5 separate regions of the Homo sapiens genome follow, and all the other regions are linked to region 1. Evidence: promoter capture Hi-C in 16 types of primary human blood cells and fetal thymus (Javierre and others, 2016). All regions are on one chromosome and are shown on one strand. The core of a region is centred on a gene start or on the middle of the fragment in contact, and the rest is flanking DNA. Distances in the headings are between cores, read along the strand shown. Region 1 holds the start of PTPRG (protein tyrosine phosphatase receptor type G). Region 2 overlaps FHIT (fragile histidine triad diadenosine triphosphatase). Region 3 overlaps FHIT (fragile histidine triad diadenosine triphosphatase). Region 4 overlaps FHIT (fragile histidine triad diadenosine triphosphatase). Region 5 overlaps FHIT (fragile histidine triad diadenosine triphosphatase).

The links. The method cuts DNA at HindIII sites, captures the fragments that hold promoters and counts their contacts. A CHiCAGO score of 5 or more calls a contact.
Region 2: a contact is called between a fragment that was not itself captured here and the fragment with the promoter of PTPRG in region 1, in 1 of 17 cell types (neutrophils). The highest score is 6.9, in neutrophils.
Region 3: a fragment that was not itself captured here is called in contact with the fragment with the promoter of PTPRG in region 1 in 1 of 17 cell types (neutrophils); the score reaches 6.6 in neutrophils.
Region 4: a contact is called between a fragment that was not itself captured here and the fragment with the promoter of PTPRG in region 1, in 1 of 17 cell types (neutrophils). The highest score is 5.3, in neutrophils.
Region 5: a contact is called between a fragment that was not itself captured here and the fragment with the promoter of PTPRG in region 1, in 1 of 17 cell types (neutrophils). The highest score is 6.1, in neutrophils.

Annotation. Positions count from the first base shown.
Region 1 is chr3:61,560,134-61,564,699 of GRCh38, forward strand. PTPRG (protein tyrosine phosphatase receptor type G) reads left to right here and starts at 1,438. Exons shown (of 30, transcript NM_002841.4): 1 at 1,438-2,239. The coding sequence starts at 2,155. RefSeq lists an enhancer at 1-215. The HindIII fragment of the contact is 7,216 bases long and covers 1-4,278 here.
Region 2 is chr3:60,372,007-60,376,657 of GRCh38, forward strand. All of the region lies in intron 5 of FHIT (fragile histidine triad diadenosine triphosphatase), which reads right to left. Among named protein-coding and RNA genes, the nearest start is that of MIR548BB, 240 kb to the right of the region's middle. The HindIII fragment of the contact is 1,847 bases long and covers 2,437-4,283 here.
Region 3 is chr3:60,272,808-60,277,953 of GRCh38, forward strand. The region is part of intron 5 of FHIT (fragile histidine triad diadenosine triphosphatase); the gene reads right to left. LOC107986015 (a long non-coding RNA gene) reads right to left here. Exons shown (of 2, transcript XR_007095935.1): 2 at 1-5,146. Among named protein-coding and RNA genes, the nearest start is that of MIR548BB, 340 kb to the right of the region's middle. The HindIII fragment of the contact is 3,652 bases long and covers 945-4,596 here.
Region 4 is chr3:60,357,239-60,362,107 of GRCh38, forward strand. The region is part of intron 5 of FHIT (fragile histidine triad diadenosine triphosphatase); the gene reads right to left. Among named protein-coding and RNA genes, the nearest start is that of MIR548BB, 260 kb to the right of the region's middle. The HindIII fragment of the contact is 2,469 bases long and covers 413-2,881 here.
Region 5 is chr3:60,458,682-60,463,905 of GRCh38, forward strand. The region is part of intron 5 of FHIT (fragile histidine triad diadenosine triphosphatase); the gene reads right to left. Among named protein-coding and RNA genes, the nearest start is that of MIR548BB, 160 kb to the right of the region's middle. The HindIII fragment of the contact is 5,459 bases long and covers 1,240-5,224 here.

The sequences.
Region 1 (4,566 bases), core at 188-2,687:
GAGGCAGGCGGATCACAAGGTCAGGAGTTCGAGACCAGCCTTGCCAAAACGGTGAAACCCCGCCTCTACAAAAAAAACCAAAATAAAACAAAAAACAAACAAAAAAAACCACCAAAAAAATAATCAGCCGGGCGTGGTGGCGGGCGCCTGTAGTCCCAGCTACTCGGGAGGCTGAGGCAGGAGAATCGCCCGAACCCGGGAGGCGAAGGTTGTAGTGAGCCGAAATCGAGCCACTGTACTCCAGCCTGGGCGACGGAGCGAGACTCCGTCTCAAAACAAAACAAAACAATCCCACGTCAAGATCGCTTTGAAACACAGGCAGAAAAATTAGGCAAAAAATGTCAAACGGCTAATTACCTTGGCTCAGTTACACATTTACTCGAAAGCCCGCCTCCCCCACTTTTAGCCCCAGCGTTAAGAATGTAAAATAGGGCGCTTAGAAGTCTAAGCGATAAAGATCTTCTTACCGAGAGCCAAGGGACAAAACTCATTACAGATAAGCCTAGTCCTCCCATTTCCCCCGGACGCCTCTCCCCGATTGCTAAAGAAGCAGCCGCTCCCCGGGTAGCTGCCAGGAAATCAGTCCGGCCCCGCGGCGCTGCTTTCACCCTGCAGGGTGTAAGAGGCGCACTTCCTGCGCCCTCCCCGCGGCCAAACCGGGGTGCGGGAACCTTCTCCAGAGAAGCTGCGAGTTGGGGAAACTCCGCCACCGATCCATCGTGGCGCCGGGAAAGGGGATGCGGGGCTCGGAAGGGCTAGATTTCGCAATCCTGGGATCGACATTCCTCCCCTCCCCCACTTTCCCCAGCCTTGGACTGGGCCAATGAAAGCCCGAAAAAGAAAAAAAAAAAAAATTAAATCTCAATGTAGCCGGAGTGCAAAGGCCGCTCGGCTTTGTTTCCCGGCGGGGGAATGCGCTGTGTTGGAGGCGCGAACAGGAGCCGCAGACGGTGAGCCTCACCGCTGCAAATGCCAGGGCAGTGAAGCCGAACAGAAAACCCCATCGCTTTAAAAAGGCAGCTGTCCGCCCTCCCCCTTTCCCCTCGCCAGGGCGAGGGGCCCCTCAAGTCCGGGATCCGCGAGCTGCGCGGAGGATCTCGCCAAACCCGAGCACCGTGCGGCGTCTTTTAAGAGCTCGAACAACGGGAATCCAGCAAAAAACAAGCCGGCCCCAGAAGGCAGCCTCCCTCCTCTCTCCGCGCACGGGCTACAATCGCCCCCAGTCCCCAAACTGTCCCAGTAGAGGCCGCGCGGAGAGAGCAGAGCCGAGGGACCCAGCGCAAGGCGGGAGCCAAGCGCGGCTGCTTTAAGAACGCGGAGAGCGCGCGCCCGCCGCCAGCTGGCCCGGGCTGCGCGCCCCCGCCGCCACCGCGCGCCCCCTGTTCGCTCGCTCCTTCGCTCGCCGGCTTTAAAGTCTCTGCCAGGATCCATGCTCACATGTTACTTCCTGTATGGAGGCATGGCCAGTTTCCAGCCCCGCGCTCTTCGTTCCTTCCCAGCCTGCGCCGGAGCCACAACTTTCAGGAGCATGGACTGAAGGCGCCCTCGCCCCAGCGCCCCTCTGAGATCCTTTGTGTTTTCCTCCGTTTCCTCCGGCCGTTTCTATTTTGGGGGGCTCTCCGCTCCCCCTGCCTCTCCCCTCCCCTTCCCCTCTCGCAAACATGCCTCCTTCCTTCCCGGGGCCCTGGAAGGAGCTGCCTGCCTGAAGCCCGGAGACGCCGCGCCGCGCTCAGCCCCGCCGCCGCCCGCCGGCTCTCGGGCTGTGCTGCGCTGCCGACTCAAGTTGGGGATCCTCGGCTGCTCGCCGCCGCCGCCCGCGGTCCCTGCCTGCCCCAGGCCCGGGGCATCGCCGCCGGCCGCCGACTCCGCGCCCTGCCCGATCGGCTCTCTCCTTTTTAAACGGAAAGCAGCCTTTCTCCGCCGAGAGGATCGTCCCCAGCGTGGCTCTGCGTTCCCGGTCACTTTTTGAGATTTTCCGGGGGGCGCTCGGCGGCTTCCCGGATTCCAAGGGGACTCGGGCCGCCGAGCGCGGGGGGCCCGTGGAGCGGGCGAGCCGGGGAAGCGCCCCGGCTTAGCGGAGGCTCGCACGGAGGCAAGAACTTATTCAACAAGTTTACCTCCCTGCTTTCCTCTTTTCGATGTGCGTTTTCGGACATGCGGAGGTTACTGGAACCGTGTTGGTGGATTTTGTTCCTGAAAATCACCAGTTCCGTGCTCCATTATGTCGTGTGCTTCCCCGGTGAGTGCCGGCCGCCGAGGGGATGCGGCCCCGGCCGGCGCGCGTTGGGGATGCGGAGTTGTCGCCTGGGCGCGGAGCTCCGGCGCCCGTCCGGGAGACCCTGGAGAGGGTGGAGGGTGGCCCGGCGCCCGGATAGGAGAAAAGGATTGCTCCGCTGGCTTGGATGATGTTTAGGGAGGCAGGCTAGTGGTCGAGGAAGGTGGAGGCAGGGGCTGGCCGGGGAGGGGGCTGGGGGACGCGGGGGTCTGCTCCCGCTCCCTTTTGGGGGTCCTGGGGAGCTGGAATCGGGAGAAAGGGGGACTTGCTTTGCTGACTCGTCGCCGATCGGGAGAACTCGAGTTGTGGGGCGGTTGGGGAGACTGAGGCCATGGAAAGGATGCTTCTGTGGGTTTGGGGGGCCCGGGATGAGCCCCCTCGCTCTGGCGGGTATTGAAGGAACTCAGAAGGTGGGGGTTTGCTTTGCTGTTCTCCATCCCTTTGGGAGGGCTAGGTTTCGGGGAATGGAAGTCGGAGGCTGGCTGCGGAGGACTGAGGATGTGTGGGGAGCAGCCTGCGTTCTGGGTCGGGGGCGTCCTCCCTCTCTCTGGGGGCTGGGGCGCGGGCAGCACTTCGGTGCCGGCGTGAGGCAGCCTCCTTGGGCGCAGTGAGACGGCAGGGCGCAGGCGGTTTCGGAGAGATCCGTGTCTCCCCTAGCCCCGGCCCGTGGCCCTTTCCCTCCGCTGCTCTGCTCGATTGGATTGCCTGGGTCTGGACGCGGGGAGGGGGCGGGGGCGGTTTCGGCGGCCGGGGCGGTTTCGGCGGCCGGGTTGCTGTTCGCGCCGGGGCTGATTTTTTTCCTGTCTCGCGCGCCCTGCCTACCTTCATCTTTGCCCTTTTGCAGGCTGTTCGCGGCTGGCAGACCCAGTCTCGCTCCTTTCTGGCCAGGTTAAGACAGGAACAATACTGGCCGTTGATAAGAATAAATCACCGCACGTAACGGTGTGCGGCTCGGCGACCCTCCACTTCCAGCTCTCAGCTGGCAGTTCCCCCTCCTCTCTCCCCTGGGGAGGGCAGAGGCCAGCTGCCTCCCTCTCCTCTCTTGCAGGTCCCCCGGGCAGCAGCCCCGAGCTCCCTCGTAGCTGTCCCTTGGGGTGGAGGCCAAGTCCTGCCCTAGCCCGGGGAAGGGCTGGAAGAAGGGGTGATTTGCTTTTCATCCCTCGCTCCCCTAAGGACAGAGAATTCCCCGTTTTTCTGCCCTCTCATCCATCAACTCCTGCATACCCGGAGGTGGAGGTTATCTGAATCAAGAAAAAGAGGAATGTGCCCCGAGGTCTCCGCTCTGCCTGGTTACAGACGCCTGTCCTCGGGCGGCTGGAGCGCCCGTTTTTGGTGCAGCGGGTCCCTTAGTCCCGTCGTGCGACCCGGAGCAGGGCGCGCGGGAGCCCTCGTCGCCCTTGGGGATCCCCTCGGGGGACTGGCAGCGAATGCCCCCTTTGCAGAATCGGGGATGGCCTCGAGGGGCAGAAAGGGAAAACACCGTCTGGTATTCTGCACCCCCTTTTCTCTCTGCGCATCCTCCTGCCCGCGGAGCGGCACGGAGCTCCAGCCCAGAAACGCAGCTCGGAGGCCGAGCTAGGACGTGCGTCCACACTCACCCTGGGGTTTGCCCACTGGAGTCCTGCCTCTACGGTAGGACACTGGGGCCTGGGGTTTGCCCACTGGAGTCCTGCCTCTACGGCCTCTACGGTAGTGTAGGCCATGGGGACATCTCCCCTTAGAAACAGCTGCCTTCATTCACTAAAAGATCACTGCTCAGTATTTGGGTTAATCATCTCTCCTTTCTAGTCTCCCCTGCTTTACCACGGACTTGACGACTGAGCGGGCTCAGGTGCACACAGGGGTTGAGCTTTGTGAGGGCCACTCTTTAATGGGTGCAGTGGGAGGTCGTGGAGGGCTGCCTTGCAAATTAGAGGAATTTCCAATTCCACTTCTGTCCTTCTTGCGCTCGGGGATGCAGTCAGTGGGCTGACCGTGGTTTTCTTTTCCCTGGTGTGTGAGGAAGCTTGAGATCCAAAATGGGACTGCCAGGGAACCAGCCTTCGTGGGGCTTGGACCATTTTCGTCTTCTCATTTTCTTTTCGCGCCCACGCTGCGAGGTAAATAGCCCCTTTCCTGGTCCGGGAGCCGAGGGGTGTGGGAAAGGGAAAGGACAGTGGTGGGAGGCGCAGGGAAGAGGGCGGTTTGGTTTGGAAAAGTGCAGCCCGAGAGGGAGCAGCAGGCTTTGGAGCAAGGTAAAGTTAAAATATCAGAGCTCTGGGAGACGCTGGCTTTTCGTTTTCCGAGGTTGC
Region 2 (4,651 bases), core at 2,110-4,609, 1.2 Mb before region 1:
ATAAAGCCTGAGCTTATAAACAAGCTGCAGAGAGAGGCATTTTCATTACATACATCACTGCATTGTGGCGGTATCTCCAGAATGGCTTAAATGCATCATGTACTTTTACCCAAATGGTCTCTGAACAAGAGTGTTGGAAGAGATGTCAGTTCTTGGGCCCTGACAATGTTGTTTCCTAGCCTAAAAAGTCTGAGAAATGTGGAATATTCCTACCTCCTTCTGTGAGAAGTCAGAAAATGAAGAGACGTATTCATCTTTAAGCCAACCTTCCAAATTTACCTGAGCATAGAGCACCACCCCTTCACCACCACCCTCTTTTCTTTCCTTTGGAAATTCTTATTAACATTCTATAGGACATCATTGGAAGGTTAATCTGATTGTGGCACATCCATAATTTGGCTATTTAGAACATTATGTTTAAAAACAGAGTTAATGTCATGAGTCTGTCTGCTTATCTCTATCTCATTGTATTTTCCGCTTATCTTCCTGGTTTCTTTTTCTTCCTGAATCTCCAACACATGCCCACACTTGGATTTTAAATTATTGGTCCAAGACAAAAAGAGTCATGAGTACAAGTTCGGGCCGATCTACTTCAATGAACAAACAATCGAAAGCTCTTTACTTCCTGATGGCAAAAATATATAAAATTAGTGACATCTACTTCAGTATGCATTAACCTCTTTTTAAAAAGCTGCCTCCTTTATCTTCCATTCTCAATTTGCTTTAGGATGTCTTTTATTTCTTCCTTATCTATGGCTCCTACTTTCTCACAGACTTTTTTTTTAAAATGTATTTGGAGGCTGATATGATCAGTGTACTTCCTCTGAAATTAAAGTTTCTTTTGATATTGAGTTCAGTATATTCAGAGTGGAAATCAAATGACTTAGGCTGGTTACAAAGATTTAAGTTAATAGAGATGAATTTAATCCACTGGTGGTGTGTTCATAATCAAATGAAGGACTCATTTCTGTTCTAGAGCCTACCAAATAAAAATGTCAAAATAATTGGATTAAAATCATATGAAATTTATTTATTTATTCAACAAATATTAAATGTTTTTATGTGCCAGACAATATTGGGTGATGGACATACTGATGTTAACACTGAGACCCTACCTTGCCTTCAACAGCCTCTAGTTTAGCAGAGAAGGCACACATTAATTCTGTATTTGTGTGTGCCATGATCTGATTGTAATTGTGATAAATGTCATGGGAGAGATGATAGGGCTGATACAGCCCAGTCCTTGGGTGGGGAGGCTGGGTAAGGATAGGGTCAGAGAAGGATGACCTGAGAAAGTGACGTTGAAGCTAAGATATAAAGAATTTGAAAATGGCTTGGTAAAGTTCTAGATAAATGAAACAGCATCAAATGCGAAGGTTGCCACATTTGAGATGAGAGCAGGTCAGTGTGGTTGCAGTACAGAGAGCAAGGCACGATAGTGTGAGACTAGGCAGAGAATAAGCAGAGCCACCATCATAGGAGCTCAGAGGCCATCTTAGGACATCAGAACTTTCTGTTAAAAACAATGGGAAGCCAAGAAAGGTTTTTAAAGCAGGAAATGGACATGATCAGGTTGAGTGTATAAGCCGTCTCCCTAGCTCAGTGGAGAAAGCAGACTCATCTTGGTGGTAGTAGGGAGACCAGCAATTGTCCCCAAAATGTCCAGTCACTACTGGCAAAAGCACCCCTAAAAAACATACAATTGAGGAATGCAAGGTGCAACTTCATTAGAAGCCCCTCGGCTTACAACGTCTATCTAACCAGAATGCCATTCTTAAATCGCTCCTATTCCTATTTCAAACTTCTGGTTCAAACAGCTCTAGTAGCCATGGAAGAAAAGATTAAAGGCAGAAAGACTGGTAGCAGAAAAGCCAATAAGGAGGTTTTAGCCTAGGCACTTGGTTCTGGTGGTTCAGGAAGTAGAGAAAAGTCAATTAAAACAAGCTACACAGAAGGCGGAATCTCTAGTATGTGGTGAATCTGGTTATTGCAATTACTACATGTATCTTTTTAAAAAAGTAATGGTTTTGGTTCCTCTTGAAATTTACATGACACTGGAATATCCTCATTTCTCTGAATTATTTTTCTTACATATAACACATATATGACATTTGACCTTGTCAGATGCTTAAAACAGAAGAATTAAGCCAAGAAATATTTCTATCAATCTCAAGTCTTTTAGGAACCTAACTAAAGGAGAATTAATAGTTTAATTATAAACAATTCTTTCCTGATCATTTTAAAAGACCCACTGAGAATGTGTGCCAGGCAAAATAGTCTAGTTTTAGTTACTTTTTGCAACCTAAAGTAAGAAGTCTCTATTTTTTTAAACAATATTTGATGACTTAGGGTGATCCAGAATTAATTTCCTCCGCTGCTAATGCAATTCTGTAAGTTTTTACTCAATTCTACTCTGCATCATTAAACAGGACTAAAAGCTTTACATTTAGGGAAGCATATCACTTGGAAAAAAAACACGTTAATGTGAATTATAACAACAAACTTTGGAGACTAAAGGCATGACTAGTAGGATCTTCCACCCCAGATTTTTTATATGCTAAGAAAATGAAGAAAGAAGCACACACACATACTAGATTACCTACAACACGGCCTCTTAGGCAAAGCATTGACATTTATGTAGAAGGACTTCAAGCGTGGAGCTAGAGAATATGCATATTCAAGTAATAATTTGATTTTAAAACCTGTGCAGCCCGAAGTCAAGATCAAATTGCATACTCAATTTTTCCACCAACATTTAGAATATTTTCTCAACGTTGAGACGTGATAATAGTTGTGTGGCTGTGTGTTTTTTAAAAAGTCTATTAAGTAGAAGAGACTGCTAATCACTGAACCAGCCCTTGCAGTTTTCTTTGCTGCTCTACAGTCAGTTAACAGGATATTACAAAATAAATTAAGAATAAGAAACAGGCCAAGTTAATGCACATGATAAAGAGTTGAGTCAGGGAAGGTTTCTGCAATATTTGGAGCCTGAAAGGAGAGACTCTAAGGGTAGCAGTGGTGTATGATAATGAGAAGAGGGAGAGAAAAATGGTAAAATACTTTATGCTCTTCAAGAATCATTCCTTTTGCTCCTTTTGAAAAAAAAAAAACAAAAACAAAAAACAAAAAAAACACTTTCACGGTAGCAATTTTTAAATGCTTTTCAATAATTGTGAGTGCCAGATTCATGATTCTGTATAGGAACATCTTAATGTAACATCCTTAAGTAGAAACCCAGTAGAACTTGGTTTTGTATCATTACATCAATATTGAAAGTATAGCCTGGGTGTGGTGGCTCACACCTGTAATCCTAGCACTTTGGAAGGCTGAGGTGGGAGGATCACCTGAGTTCAGGAGTTCGAGACTACCCTGGGCAACAAGGAAAAACCCCATCTCTACTTTAAAAAAAAAAAAAAAAATTAGCCAGATGTGGTGGTGTACACCAGTAACCCCAGCTATTCAGGAGGCTGAGGCACAAGAATCTCTTGAACCCAAGAGGCAGAGGTTGCAGTGAGCAGAGATCACGCCACTGCACTCCAGCCTGGGTGACACGGTGAGTGAGACTCTGTCTCAAAAAATATATATTGAAAGTATAAATACTACTATACCATTTTAAAGTACACATACATAGAGGAGTAGCAATACCATTCTGTGAAGACAACTGGTTAGTTGTAGTTACTTTCATATTCTGGAGCTGTCTTCTGCCTGGACTATTCTCCCCTCAATCACAAATTTTCACTGGGTCAGTGCCTGCTCAGATATCATATCTAGGCTTAATCAACTGTTCTGTAGAAAGACCTTCCCAGATCCTATAGATGCAATGCTGTCAAACAGAGCTCTCTACAACGATAAAAATGTTCCAGATGTGTGTTGCCCAATATGGTAGTCATGAGCCACATGTGACCACTGAGCACCTGAAATATGGTAGTGTGCCTGAGGAAGTGAACATTTAATTTTATTCCTTTTTAATTAATTCAAATTTAAATTAAATTTAAATAGCTACACGTGGTTAGTGGTTTCCATGCAGAAGCAGAAGAAGACAGCTCCTGTTCTTCTATTTCATTCATATTCTGTGTGTCCCCTTGTAGGACTTGGCATATTTGCAGTTACATAGTGTTTAAAATTATTTGTTTAATGTCCATCTTTCCCACTAAATTATTGAGATTTTAAGTAGAGTAACTAGGTCTGTCTTGATCCCACAAAAGCCCATGCTTGACACCACAAGCCCCCATGCTTGACACATAGTGTCTATTCAAAGAGCTGCTGACTTACCATTTAAATAAAGCTTTTAATTATCTTAAACATATAATATCAGATATTAATAAGTTGGTTAAGTGAATACCAAAGGTTCATGTTAGAAGACTGGAATACTGTTTACAAGGTGTGAACTTTCTGGAAAAGTCCAGAAAATGCCACCAGAAATTATAAAAATCAGTGGTAAAATGTGGTTGCCACAGATTTTTCATAAACACAAACATACATACACACACACATTCTCAAAACACAGCTGCCTTCAGCAAAAGAGTCTTCTATTTTGCTCTAAAATCTGTTGTGGTTGTGAAAATGATGACACTTCTCTGCAAAAGAAAAATTTCAATGCAAAACAAACTCACAATTTAGCTCAGGATGTATGAAAAAGTTGACACAAAGA
Region 3 (5,146 bases), core at 1,521-4,020, 1.3 Mb before region 1:
GTGTGCAAACGGATACTGTGATTTTGAGAATGAAACATGATAGCTCCTGCATCCACTACTAACAAAAGCAAGTGACTGGCAATGAGGGTAAATCAGGCCTCCCTTGAGTTGGTCCTTGAAGGTGCTATCAAATTAACGTATGTCTAACAATTCTGTCTCCATTCAAATCAATTCGCCTAGGTAGCTAACCTGCTCACTGTTTCTCTAACAAGGTAAACAATGGATTAGTAAAAACTACACATATCAGACCTGGTTTCTTACAACATTAGGCTCAAAATGCAAGATTTACATAAAGAGAACATCTATGGTGAGAAATAATTTGCTTAGACAGGAAATTTTATCACTGCCATTCAGTTAGTTGGAAAATGAAGATTTAGAGATTTGGGGAATTCTCTAATGTTCTACATAAGCATAGGGTAAAATAAAAACTTCGTATTTCTTTGAATTAATATCCAATTCTCTTCTAGAGGAAATTTTATTGAATTGGAAGTGTAATTCTTCTGTTTAAAAGAAAGCCTCAGCCAGGCATGGTGGCTCACACCTGTAATCCCAGCACTTTGGGAGGCCGAGGCGGGTGGATCACAAGGTCAGGAGTTCAAGACCAGCCTGGCCAACATAGTGAAATCCTGTCTCTACTAAAAATACAAAAAAAATTAGCCAGGGGTGGTGGCGGGTGCCTGTCCTCCCAGCTACTCAGGAGGCTGAGGGGGAGAATTGCTTGAACTTGGGAGGCAGAGGCTGCAGTGAGCTGAGATCACACCACTGCATTCCAGCCAGAGCAACAGTGCAAGACTCCGTCGTCTCAAAAAAAAGAAAAAAGCCTCATTATTTTTTATAATGATCATGCTGATCATACTGCTATTCTAGTCACTGTCAATAAACAAAATGACAATAAATAACCATTACAAGGCAGCAATTAACATGATGGTACCTCCTAACTTCTAAGCTTGTTTCTTTAACGTGAAAACACTATTTCTATTGGCAAGTATGTAGATGAGAGCTGAGTCTTCCTGAAGGACAGATTGAAAGAGTTTTCACAAATATTTAAAATCACAGAAAAAGTAATGTTCTGAAACATTTACAGAAATTAATAAAAGTATCTCATCTTTGTGTAGATTAAATATTAAAATGCACTTATATAACTTTTATTAAAATAATTAATATTTAACGAAGACAATTGAAAGAACACAACTATGACAAATTACATTTTGGCAGTAATGATAAGCCTTTGAGTTCTAGTTCTTTCTCCTTAGGGATGTTACATATCTGTTTTCTCTACTTAAATCACTCTGCCTCATTATCATCTCTGCCTTCTACTCTCAGTTCAGCTTGAAAGTTCATCTTATACAGGGTTACACGATTTTATAATATCAGATAACTCTCTTTCACACCACTTACCAGAGCTCTAATACTAACTTATGTGTCTCATTCTTGGTTGAACATTTCTCTACCTCACTAGATTATAAACTCCTTGAGGGCAGGCACTGGTTCCACTCTCTTCCACTAAATCCCCAACTCCAAAACCCTAACACCTTAACACCTAATATATATATCACCATTTACATATCAGTCACTCAATAAATATTTGAAGAACGAAATGACAAAATACCCTTTACCTGAATGCTTACCTAAAAATGTATCTTATATATGGAATGAATGATCCACACTTACTACATGGATGTATAAACTCAAACATTATACTTTTCTTTGCACATTTGAGAATATGTGTCATAAGCTATGTTTACAATGATATGGAAACAAAAACTTGTCTATAACAAAAACATGCCCATAGCAATAACAGCAACAACAAGAAGTGGTTCCAAATTCAAGGTGGTAGCACAGCTTTTTTCAAAAATTTGAGAAAAAACAAATCTATTAAAACAGAAGATATAGTCTCTTGGACTCCACTAAAATGAGTCTGTTCAGGTCTACTACAAAACACATCTTTAAGAGAGATTCATGGCCTTAGTAGCCAGACAGTAGGTATGGCCCAGACCTTCCCAGCACAGCCTATGTATTGAAGACTTTAGTGAAAACACTCATGTCAGCAAATTTAGCATGGATAATTGCAATAGGAAGTTCTATAACTTTGCTTTAGGGAAAAAAATTCTATTTTAATTTTCATTCCCAAACAGAATTATGTTAGAATAACAAAATAAACTTCCCCACATTTATCTGTTTTTTAAAAATGATAGTCTCAAGGAAGAGAAACTTTCTTTTCATTCATTTAATAAAGATTTTTGCATTTTATTTAAAGACTCCTTATGGCTATATTTTAAGGATTCAAGTTCATTTATTTGTGATAACTAGAAAAATTTTTTGTCCCTTTGTGAAAATTTTGGAACTAGGCATATTTTCATTACTGTTTTCATTATTACTGACAACTTGGCTCCCTGCTCTGGGAAATATTTCTGGAAGAAAAGAAAAAAAAAAAAAAACTATGAATCAACTAACTTACTTAGCAAGGTCATCAGCTTACTCACCAGGGCTTATTTCAAGACCCTCTCTGTGCCACAAACACAAGACTACTTTGTCTAAACTCTTGTCCAATTCCAATCATTTCTCTGACTTGCAGTACCTGCCTTAAAGTAATGCAGAACAAGCCCAGAACTCCATAAATGTGCTCTCCTAATTTATCCATTTTGAGCAACTAATCAGATTCTCTCAATCTTGTATATTCTTTTCCTATAGATCTAAAATCATAGCTTTGCTTGATCAACAGGTTTTTCCGGTAGTCTTGTGGAAACTTGACAGTAGGCATTCATCTTATATCCACTACACAGAAACCTGAGTTCACAGATGTTGTCTTAGTCAATGCCATACACACACACACACACACACCTGTGACCAGCACAGTGGTTGGCACATAATATGTGATCAATAAATGCATACTTAGGAAAGAAGATTTTGTTCTATAGTATTACAGAGGGTCAAAGTTCTTATAAAGGAGAGTCAGTTACTAAAACTAAACTGATATTCTATCTTCTCATGTGGTCTTTCGGCATCAGTCCTATCCTACACAATAATGCCTTGCAATCTGTAGTTGTGAAATTAGACTTCTTTTTATGTGTGCACAAATTAAGCCAGTTTCTACAAATTAAAGAACATCCAGCAATTATTGCTCTCCTTCAAGCTGACCAATAGGATAAGTTTAAGCAGTAGTTTTGAGAATTTGTTTTTGCAATTTTTTTTTTTTTTGAGATGGAGTCTCGCTCAGTCGCCCAGGCTGGAGTGCAGTGGCATGATCTCGGCTCACTGCAAGCTCTGCCTCCTGGGTTCACGCCATTCTCCTGCCTCAGCCTCCTGAGTAGCCGGGACTATAGATACCCGCCACCAGGCTGGCTAATTTTTTGTGTATTTAGTAGAGACCGGGTTTCACTGTGTTAGCCAGGATGGCCTCGATCTCCTGACCTCGTGATCCGCCTGCCTCGGCCACCTAAAGTACTGGGATTACAGGCATGAGCCACTGCACCCGGCCTGTTTTTGTAATTTCTTATACTACAATGTTTCCTTCTGGAGACAGAGGAAGTCCAGCAGATGAAGTCTAAAATACTCTGCTTATTTTGTGAAAAGACCAGGCATTCACACAAGCGTTTTTCTCAAAGCTGAGAAAAAGGAGGCTGAAGGTGCAAAAGATATCAGAGTACTCATTCAGAACCCAAGAGTCTATAAAATATAAACCTGGTGAGAGAACTGGCCTCAGCCAATGGAGATGCCTCAATAGTGTTTGTGTCACGAGCGAACAAGGTGAATCATAAAAATATTTTTTAAACTTCTGTTTCAAAGGTGCAAAAGGCATATATATTAGTCTCTTTGCATTACTCTAAAGGAATACCTGAGACTGGGTAATTTTTAAAGAAAAGAGGTTTATTTGGCTATGGATCTGTAGGCTGTATAGGAAGCATAACACTAGCATCTGTTTGGCCTCTGGTGAGGGCCTTGGGGAGCTTACAATCATGGCAGAAAACAAAGGCGAGCCAGCATGTCACAGGGCAAGAGAGGGAGAAAGAGAGAGAGTAGAGGAAGTCCCAGCCTCTTTTAAACAGCCAGATCTCATGTGAACTCACAGACTGAGAACAAACTCACTCATTACTGCAAGGATGACACCAAGCCATTCATGAGGAATCCACCCTCATGTCCCAAACACCTCCCACCAGGCCACTCAACCAACAATGGGGATTACATTTCAACATGAGATTTGGAGCGGACAAGCATCCAAAGTATATAAGTACAGCAGCTAGAACTTTCAGTTACTTAAAAAAAATCTTGCTGACATCTTAATTACCTGCTGAAGTCCTGGTGGTCAGCAAGAAAGCAGTGAAAACATTTAAAATTTCAATTTTCATATTAATGGTCCTAATTTCTGGATCTGGTTTTCTCTTTTAACCATTTGCATAAAAATGTTTTGTGAGGGACATATAAAGAAGTTGGAAGCTGCAGATATAGGCGTTAAAAAGGAATTATTTAGCAGACAGTGAGGGTATGGAGTCCTCCGTAAGGTTTTCCTTTGAATGAAAAGCAGCCGCCAAATCATTTTCTTTTCTAACAAAGAGCAGCCTGTAAAATCAAGCTGCAGACCCAGACAAGCAAGCTGGAAGCTTGCAATGGATGAATGCCAGCAGTTGTGCCAATAAGAAAAAGCTACCTGGTACTAAGCATGCTCAAAATGGCAGCTCCATCTTCCCTTTTCTTTGCCAGCCACATGTAGAGTAACGAGCAGGCAACATGGCGCCAGCTGGGAGAAGTCGCCATTTGCTTAAGATCAGGGTAGGGCATCCAGCTTCCTCGCATGTTATGTAAACATCACACCTCGTCCAACCAATCTTTGGGCCCTATGTAAATCAGACACCGCCTCCTCAAGCCTGCCTATAAACTCCAATGCACTCTGCCACAGGCTGGAAGTCTCATTCAGGCACCCTTTTCTCTCTCAAGAGAGAAAGCTGTTCTCCTTTCTCTTTCTTTTGCCTATTAATCCTCAGCTCCCAAACTCACTCCTTGTGTGTGTGTGTCCCTGTCCTTAATTTTCCCGGCATGAGATGACAAATCTCGGATATTATCCCAGCCAATGACACTGCTTCACTGCAATTTGCAACAAGAAAAATATTTACGACAAGGAAAAAAGATGAACCAACTGGAAATTAATGAC
Region 4 (4,869 bases), core at 397-2,896, 1.2 Mb before region 1:
TCTGTGTCGCGCAGGCTGGTATGCAGTGGCATAATCTTGGCTCACTGCAACCTCTGCCTTCCAGGTTCAAGCTCAAGCGATTCTCCTGCCTCGGCCTCTTGAGTAGCTGGGATTACAGGCACCCATTCTTGAGTAGCTGGGATTACAGGCACCCATCACCACACCTGGCTAATTTTTTGTATTTTTAGTAGAGACAGGGTTTCGCTATGTTGGTCAGACTGGTCTCAAACTCCCAACTTCAGGTGATCCACCTGCCTCAGCCTCCCAAAGTGCTGGAATTACAGGCATGAGCCACCACGCCCGGCCCAATATCACTTTCAATGGGTCCCAACACATTAAATGATGATTTCTTGACAAAGTTTTACACACTACTTAAGGATCAATTGACATCAACCCTAACTCAAAGCCAGGAAGCTTAATCCAACATGAAAATATTCTGTGGATGTTGTACTTAGGCATATTATTCTCTGTAGTATATACTTTCATATTGATACACATATTTAACATATTGCAAAGCATATTTTAAAAGCATTGATCTATGTTCTACTGGTAATTTTCACAACGCTTAATCACATGGCCATCATAGTCTTTGCATAAGACTACCTTGTTGTTCAAGAATGGTTTTAGCATTCCATCCTTCTCCATCATACTGGCTCAGAGGTGAGAACTGACCTTCTCCCAGTAGATAAAAGACTCTCATAATTGTATTATGTACAGCAGCATCAGCATCACCTGGGAACATGTTAGAAGTTCGAACTATAGACCTCCAACCCAAACCTCTGGAATCAAAACTCAGGAGATAGGCCTTAGCAATTTGTGTTTTATTATATCCTCCAGCTGTCTGGAGAACCACATAAGTTTTGAGAAAGAAGGCAATGCACCTTATCATTCTTCAAGGCAAAGTTCACTTCACTTAGCTTGGTATTCTTCACTGCACCTAGCACCCTCAACATAACAAGCACTTAATACATATTTGTGACATAAAATAGATTAAAATATTCTAAAGACAGAACTCATTTTAGAGAACAATCCTTTCCAGCCACTATTTGGAGATTTTGATACTAGAGATGTATTTGGCTGAGAAGTTTCCTTTCCTTAACCTATTGCTAGGTTCTGTGAACTTGCCATGAATTGAAACCAAGGATGGACTACAGTCAGAATGAAGGAAGATGAGGAAGAAAAAAGCAAAGAAGAAAACAAAACCACTCTATTCCTTCTGAATTTGGCACAAAGATCTCAGGTGTTCCTTATATTCTTAAGACGTAAATCACAATGAATTATGATCATTGAGCAAATATTACTGTGAGCCTAGGTCAAAAAGCTAAGGTCATAGTGTTCTGACATAAACAAAATCAGCTTTATTTCAGAAAGAGCATAGTGAAAGGCTAATAAACATTGCTAAGTAAAGAAGGGGCTGATAACACAGATACAACATGGTAGGTCTATACTTTCTAGTGCTTATCCATTTCTCTGCCAGCCCCTGCATTTATGGCACATCAATCAAAAGTCTTGGTTTTGGAGCCAGGTGAACTGGGTTATAATCTGGCTCAGGTCTTCACTAGTTGTAGGTCTTTGGGGAAATTATTCTTCTCCTTTCTGACTGTCTTCATCTATAAAATGGAGTAATAATGGTAACTAACTCATAGAATTGATGGAAGATTTATATTAAATAATGTGTGTTGTAAATGCTCAATAAATGGTAGATTGTTTTTCTTTGTCTATAGGAGGTGTTGAGGGCTTGTAGTCTACTTGTTCAAGCAACAGGACATAAAACAAAAGCTCATTAAGTCAGATGTGGTATCCCATCAGCACTTGCCCAGCACTGAGAATACAGCAGGTATTCCAGAAGTGTGAGCCAAATCACATGCATTATACCACAGTACAAAGAAACCTTCCCCAAGAGTCATGGTTGAGAATTACACAGCAGAGATTTTCCACATCACAGAACAGAGTAGACTGGCTTGACTTCATGATATTTGGATACAAAACTGAGAAAATTAGATTTCCAAAATATATTATTACTTGAATATGAAAATATCTTTTTTTTTTTTTTTTTTTTTTGAGATGGAGCCTCGCTCTATCGCCAAGCTGGAGTACAGTGGTGTGATCTTGGCTCAATGCAACCTCCGCCTCCTGGGTTCAAGCGATTCTCCTGCCTCAGCCTCCCAAGTAGCTGAGATTACAGGTGTGTGCCACCATGTCCAGCTAATTTTTGTATTTTCAGTAGAGACAGGGTTTCACCATGTTGGCCAGGATGGTCTCAATCTCTTGACCTCGTGATCCACCCGCCTTGGCCGCCCAAAGTGCTGGGATTACAGGCGTGAGCCACTGTGCCCGGCCTGAATATCAAAATATCTTTTTCGAATTCTGTGACAGCCCATGACCCCTTCACCAGAGCAAGCCAAACACCACTTGTTTTCGCCAAAGAGACAGGAGCAAAAGGTTCTGGTATTTATCATCTGGGCTTTATCTTTTTCTGGATAGATTATGAAATTCCAGTGTATTCCAGACAGGTCCATTTTCATGGAACCAACCACTGTCTTCCCTAAAAGCATAACAGCATCACAGGCAAAGGTCCCAAGATAATAGAATTTTATATATCAGGCTGGCTTTCTAAGAGAAGTCAATAAAATCCAACAATGATGGGAAATGCAGGATGTAGCAGAGATCCTTAAAAGCAATTAGCAGAGAGCAGGGATGAAAAGCAATTATGCAAACACTAGAACACTAGGACATTCAAGACTTTTTTTTTTTTTTTCTTTTTTTTTTTTTCATTCTGTAAGGAAAGGACAGATCCCTGCTTTGGAAAAAGAATACAAATGTGCAGGTTTGAAAGTTCCCCATTAGGTGCATCTACCATTTCTATTATATTCAAATACTAAGCTTTTTAGGACTTATATTAAACTCCATAATCTTAATATTTATGACCACAACTTAACAATTAATCAAACTATTAAACACTAAAAGAGTCAAAGGCTGAGTATGGGTGGGGCAAGAAAATTTTTTTTTTTGAGATGGAGTCTCACTCTGAAACAATCTTGAAAAGCCTCCAGAAGGTACAAATTTGCTGGCACTATAAAAGACAAAGGCAACTTAAGGAGGTTCAAGGAAAAAGGAAAATAATGCTAAGAAAGAGAAAACATGAGAGAAGGCACTGGGGCCAATAATGCACAGAGTTCAGATACTAAATAGTGAAGTGATCCATTCAGCCTAGAAGAATGTTATGGTAGAATGGAAAAATGCAAGTCTTTGACTCTGAGAGCCCTGGGTTTTAATTCTGTCTTTCTGTGACCTTGGGTAAGGCATATAACTTCACTGAGATTCACTCTGAGCACCCACAAAATGAGGGCAACAATAGCTATCCTATGAAATAGGTAACTAATAAATAGCAGCAATATTTAATAGGCATGCAAATTCTTTTCTCTTCCCTTCACCAAGTCATAATAAACCTGTTCTTTAATTCAAAATCAATATGGCCAAAGCCAAATTCACAACATCTTCTCACAAGCTTCCCTTCTCAAACAGCCTGTCTTATCAATCGAGCCACCATGTCTCCACTGACCCAGGCTTGGAATGTCTGACTGATAGCTGCCTCAACTTCACCTTCAAAACAAATGTCTGCTCAAGTTATATCCCTCCAACACGATTCATTTTGACCTCTTTATCCCTGTTTTGTCAACCACAACCCAAATCTAAGTCTGAATTATTGAAAAAGCCTTCCGTCCGACCCATGTGATTCCTACTTTTCTCCCCACAAATTCATATACCTCCCACTGCTTAGCTTATCTATTTCGAATACTGGTGTAATACATCCTGGTGATGGCTCCCTGTTTCCTACTACTCAGTGATATATTCATCCGTTCATCCAATAAACAGTTACTGGATATCCACCAAATACCAAGTACTGGGCTATGTATTGGAGGTGCAAAAATGAGCAAGTCATGCCTTTGAAAGTCCAGTGGGGAGAAGTAAACAGATAGATTATAATACAATGCTATAAAGAAGAGATGAAACTAGAAATTCGCTTTATAGGTTGAACGAGACAAAATCTCAGATCAGAGATGGTGCTGTATTGGAACAGCATCTCAAGAGAGGAGAGGTGTTTGTCAGGCAAAAAAATGGAAAAGGGCACTATTCTTTTTCAAAGGCACGTACACAAAAAAATCCTGTGTTTTATAAGTAAAAGACACCCCCACCAACTGTAGAGGAGGTTGAATGGATTTCTTGCAGCAGTGAGTGTGTAAATGAGTGACTAGCTAGGATGCAAGACTCCCCTCCTTTGACCAAGCAAGTAAACAAAGGATGGATTCTTCATAGAAGATGCAATGGCAACAGGTGACAAGTTTCTTTGGGCAACTACTGAGTCAGTTATGTAGGTAAAGGGGTAGAGATTCAAGAATCAAACAAACAAAAGACAACAAAAGCAATACAATATTTCAGACACAGAACCCCACTGGCCAGAGAGAGAGACAGATTTTACCCCTCAATGACAGTGAACACAGAACTTAGACCATTTGAAATAAAAGTTCTTACCATATCTCTCCTGACTCGTACAAACACCAAAGGGCAATAGTAAAGGAGGATAAATCTTTTTGAGGGAAGTGAGCTGTACTATCTCATATCTCACGGGAATCCATTCATGAGAAAGTCAAATCCAGAAGTCTGTTCCACTTCAGCTCTCATTTACAAAAAAAGTTTTCTCCTTCCTTTCTTAAATCAAGTGACACAAGTCAACTCAAGATGTGCAGCATCACATCGTCACTCAACCAAACTGTGCACACATCTTCTGCCATGGGTGTCACCAATCTTAAATCTCAGTGTTTAATACTGAGATTTAAAAAAAAATAATTTTATTGTGTGCATTTGAAG
Region 5 (5,224 bases), core at 2,719-5,218, 1.1 Mb before region 1:
CACCTTGACCGCCAACTCTAGATGTCAAAAGCTGATACAGGAGTCATACATCATTCAATTACGTTCTTCATGATATGGGGGCTATGTGCATTCTACTATATATATTTTTAAAGACATGGTCTCACTCTGTCGCCCAGGCTGGAGTGCAGTGGCACAAATCACGGCTCACTGCAGCCTTGAACTCCTAGGCTCAAGGGATCCTCCCACCTTAGCCTCCCAAGCAAGCTGGGACTACAAATGTACACCACCACACCTGGCTAATTTGTCTTATTTTTTTTTTTTTAGAAACAAAGTCTCACTATGCTGCTAGGGCTGGTTTCGAGCTCCTGGGCTCAAGCGATCCTCCTACCTTGTTCTCCCAAAGTGCTGGGATTACAAGCATGAGCCACAGTGCCCAGCCCATTTTTATCGTTGGTGGAAAGAAAAGCATTTTTTATAATGTGTTTAGATGTCATACTCAATTCTAGCTTCATCAAAATCACTTGGAGCTTTTACATTAATGTTTAAAATACAAGCTACATCCCAGAGCTAGTGAATTAGTATATTTTAAGGGTTGAGCCAGAAATTTATAGTTTACCAAAGTTTCCAAGGTGATTCTAATAATGACCTAGTTCCAGAAATCACTGGTATATGCCATAATGCAAAGGTATAAAGATAGTATACACCAAGTAAATAAATGTCAAAGATCAATTAACTAAAACAAAGAGTGGGTTGGGAAAAATGAGACTGCCTGAGACTAAAATCTCATTCTCCATCAGCTATTAAGGTAGATAAATTACAGCACCTCTTTGAGTTTCAATGCCCTCACTTTCAAAATGGGGCAGTAATAGCTACCACAGATACATAGGTACAACGCGCTTAGCAGTGGTTTGAAACCACAATAAGCTGCCAAAAAGCATGGCTCATTTTGCTTTTTAACCAGATTCTAGATCTTCTAAACAATAAAGCTGATTATAAAGACATTTTCCACAAAATAGCCTTTTTCCTCTCCTTCAATGCTTTTCACTTAATACTGTACTTCTTGCAAAGTCAGTAGGCTGAGCATGAACAAATTAAAATTAAAAGCTGAATTACTTAATTAATTTTAAGGCACTCTCAGTTCATTAACAGCATTCCTGCAAGTTAAAAAACAAGAAAACACATGGAATGATTGTAAACCGCATCCCAATTTCAGAAATGTTCAAATATATTGGGGTTGGGGAGGTGAGCAGGGCAATCTACTGCCATATCAAACCCAAAAGCTTCTCTTAAAAAGGCTATGTACATGTATATGCCCACCAGACAAGATGTCCTTCTCTCATGTTGCAATCAGCAACCCAAAAGTCCTGTAAAATAGCCAAAGGTCAAAATAGTTCAGAAAACACTACTTCTTATAGTCCTCCTCTCCACAACCCTCTTTTCAGAAGTTCGTAACTGGCATATTCACATATCAAAAAATCTGAAATTAAGAAATGTCTTCAACAAATATGTCTATCAAACTTGTCTTGAACTTTCCTCACTTACCTTTCGGGGGGCAAATCTGATGAGGACTTATTTTGGGAAACATTAAAATTAGGGAAAGTCTTTTGGTTATACTTATTAGGAAAATCATTGTCCAAGTGTCCTGTCTTGCCAGAATGAGAGGTTTATAAGGAAAGAAGTTCCACGGCTTTGGACTAATAACCAACCATGGGAATCACAGCTTCCTTCCAAGGGAAATAACACCTTTTTTTAAAATTTGCTTTTATATTGGTTAAAAAAAAAAGAACCATGAGGAAACATCAAGAACCAATATTACTTCTTTGGAAAAACTTTTTGGGGATATTGCTAAGGATTTATATTGCATAATTCAACTAAACGAATTTTTTAGTTTTAAAAAATCCCAATAATATTATAAACCTAGAAACTGTTTATTCAGATCCACCTTGGTAAAATAAATACATTCAATAAACACAGAATACAGACAGCTTTAATTTTTTACATGTGGGTCAGGAGGATCCATCTCTCCCAAAACATGTATCACCCCACATGTGCTGTGATTTACAATCCTCAAAGCATTAAAGTTTAATTTGTGAATCTACTGTTTCAGATTCATTGGAATTCTGATCCAATAGTCACTCTAAAATAGATGCAGGCTGGAAGACAATTCTCTACATTTTAAAGCCAGATGGCCCATAACAGCTAAATATTTTTTCTTTCCTTGTTCAGAATATAATTCATGTTGGAAGTAGTGAATCAACTTAAGTACGTACAAATTTAAGGGAACCTTAGTCATCAGTCCCAAACTTAGGAATCTATTTAAAGGAAATATATTTTAAGGTTAAGTTTAAAAAATAACAAAAGAGAATACCATATGTAACAACCCTGGCACAGAACACTTTCTTTAAGAAAACTCCCTTAACGTTAACGGCAAAAAAATACTCTTCCCATTTCACTATGGTAACTAATAAAAATTTTTTCTTCACACTGAAAAATAAAATCTTTATTTAATCTAATTCTGTAAGTGCCAAAAACTCTGATTATTTTATCAAGTTATTAAATATGTTATTCAGTAGTGAGCCTTATTGATTTTCCTTTTGATTAGAAAAATTACCAAAAAAATCCAGCTCTACAGTTCATAACCTGAGAATGGTAGAAACCCAAGACGTAGAGCACATTATGCAACACTCTTAAACAAATCTGCCTCTTGGGATCTCTCTCCTTTTATAGAAAGAGACTCTCCAGCAGCCCCTAGAGACATTCCCATACTAAGTGAGTCAGCTAAATAAAATTAAGCAACTAATAAAACAATATGTCATCTTGTTCTCATTGTCATAATTAAAATCCTTTTTCTTTAAGATGAAAGGTGGCAGCTATAGAGTAGCCTTCAAAATCATAGGCTATGCCGAAGCAGGATCTTCTCTCCAACGCTGTACAGACAACGCAGCTGTCCCTGACATCACCACTTGAAATTATTCCCTATTTGATATTTTTGACATTAAAAGGCTGAAGTCTTTTTTCTTCTGCAAGTTACTTCCATGCTTGCTTATTAAGCATTCCAAGTTGGTCTCTCACCCAATAGCCTTAGAAAGCAGACCATCATTATTTAGGGCAAAGGTTTCCAGAGGCAGTCAGAGGCAGGATAAGGATGGGGGATCCCAAACAAGCCATGCTCTTTCCTAAGCAAAGCACCTCTATTTTGAATGTGTTTGATACACTGAGCTTCCAAATAAGATTGAAATTGATTTTAAAAAAAGGGAACCCCCGCCCCCCTTTAAGCCAGGTAAAAACTATAACCATCCCTGTCAAGAGCGTTACATGAATCTGTAAATCCTATGACAGACTACCGGTTGAAACCGAGGTTGAAGTCTTCAGTTCGCCTGACTCAGTGCTGGTACACAGTAAAAACTAACACTGAATGGGTGCCCCACAGTGAGTGAGGCATTTCAGCAGGACCGGGGGGATGTTATGCAACAAAAACAGTTATAGCCCTTGTCTGCCTGGAGTTCACAATCTAATGGAAGGATGATCATTACATCAAATATTAAAGAGAGCTACCATGCAGTAAGCCCATTCTAGACATCAGCTGCCGTTCTAATATCAACTCATTTACTCTCCACCACACCTTTAAGAATGAGGTACAGTGATCACTCCCCTTTTACAGAGGAGCCACTGAGGCACAGAGTTGGCAAGGTTGCTAAGTGGCCAAGTTTGGTTTGAAGCCAACGGTATGGCTTGAGTGCCCATGGCTCAACCACTCAACCCTACCTCCTCTCCCAAACACTGTAAGAACCCAAATGTCAAATGCACCTAGGGCAAGTCCTCGACAGAAAGGCATGGGGTGTGAAAAGAATGTATAATTAGAGGATCTGACCAAGGCAGGGAGAACACCACTGAGGAATTAATGCAGGAGCTGAGAGCGGAAAGCAGGGTAGTGAAGAGAGGAGGGAAGAGCATCGAGGTAGGAGCAAAAGCAAGAGATCCGCCAGGATAAAGGGCTTGGAGAGCAGGAGGACTAGAATTCAGCCCATCAGGACAGAGAACATAGGAGGGTGGCAAACAGGAGGTTATGGCCCCAGGCGGACAAGGAAAGACAGGAAGGTGCCAACCATGCTGGACCGGGCTAAGACAGCTGGGGAGCCACTGAGGGCATGCTGCAGGGAGATCACTGGGCTAATACTTGTGAGTCCAAAAGACTTTTCTGGCTGTATCTACACAGTCATGGCACAGTCCTCCCAATAGGCAGGCCGACACAAAACCAACCCTGCTCTGTATCACTCCATGTATTCCTGGTCATATTGTCACAGCCTGATGTGCACTGACCACCTCTGTGCTGTGCCACACTGAGGGAGCAGCTGCTCCAGCTAATTTCTACCCAACATTCACCACCTGGAGGCAATGCATTGGCTCCTCAGGCTTTAGCATGGCAAGGGAACTTCACAAATAAGAAAGTTTAAAAATGATGTTACTCTCTTCAAAATCTTTTCTTCATTTGTAGGTGGCAGAAGGCAACAGATATATCACATCATTGAGTACCATGGGACATGTGTTCACACTTTAAAGTACTTAGGTGTTATTTCATGTAAATGTTGAGAAGGAAAAAAAAATCCTGTTTTTCTTGTCTCTTGGGAATCAGCTTTGGTTTTCTGAAGAAATAGTTCACAAATCTAAGGAAAATGATATATCTATACTTATTTCCCTAAAGAGAACATAATTTTTCTTCTTTTGGTTGATAAGGATTTAATTGCATTTAGAAGGATTTAATCACATAAGGCTAACCAATGAAACACTAACTGTGGGCAGAACTCTGTTTCAGTTGGCCCTATTGGCCCTAAAATGTCATTGATAGTGACTAAATATACACATTACTCCTCTCCCCCGCCATCCTTTCTCCTCCTTCCATTTCTCCTTCTCAGAACAGAGAAATAAAACGTCTAGGAAACCCATCATTTACTGGGGAAAGGAAGGGGACGTGTAACATTTCAAACTGTAATAAGGCATGAACTTGCCAAGCTGTCCATGTGGGAGGTTATAGCATGCCCAGAGAAGTTGCCCAGAAAATAGACATGGTTTCCAATCAAAAAAACTTAGACCAGTTGAAACTCTGGCTTTGGGCAATTTACTTAACTTCTCTGGGCATCAGTGTTAACTTATGTAAAATGGAGACAATCACAATATGTACCTTACCCTGTTGTGGTAAGATTAAATAATTGGCACAGGGCCTGACACAATAAAGGTTAATGATAGCAGCTGTTAATTATTATCC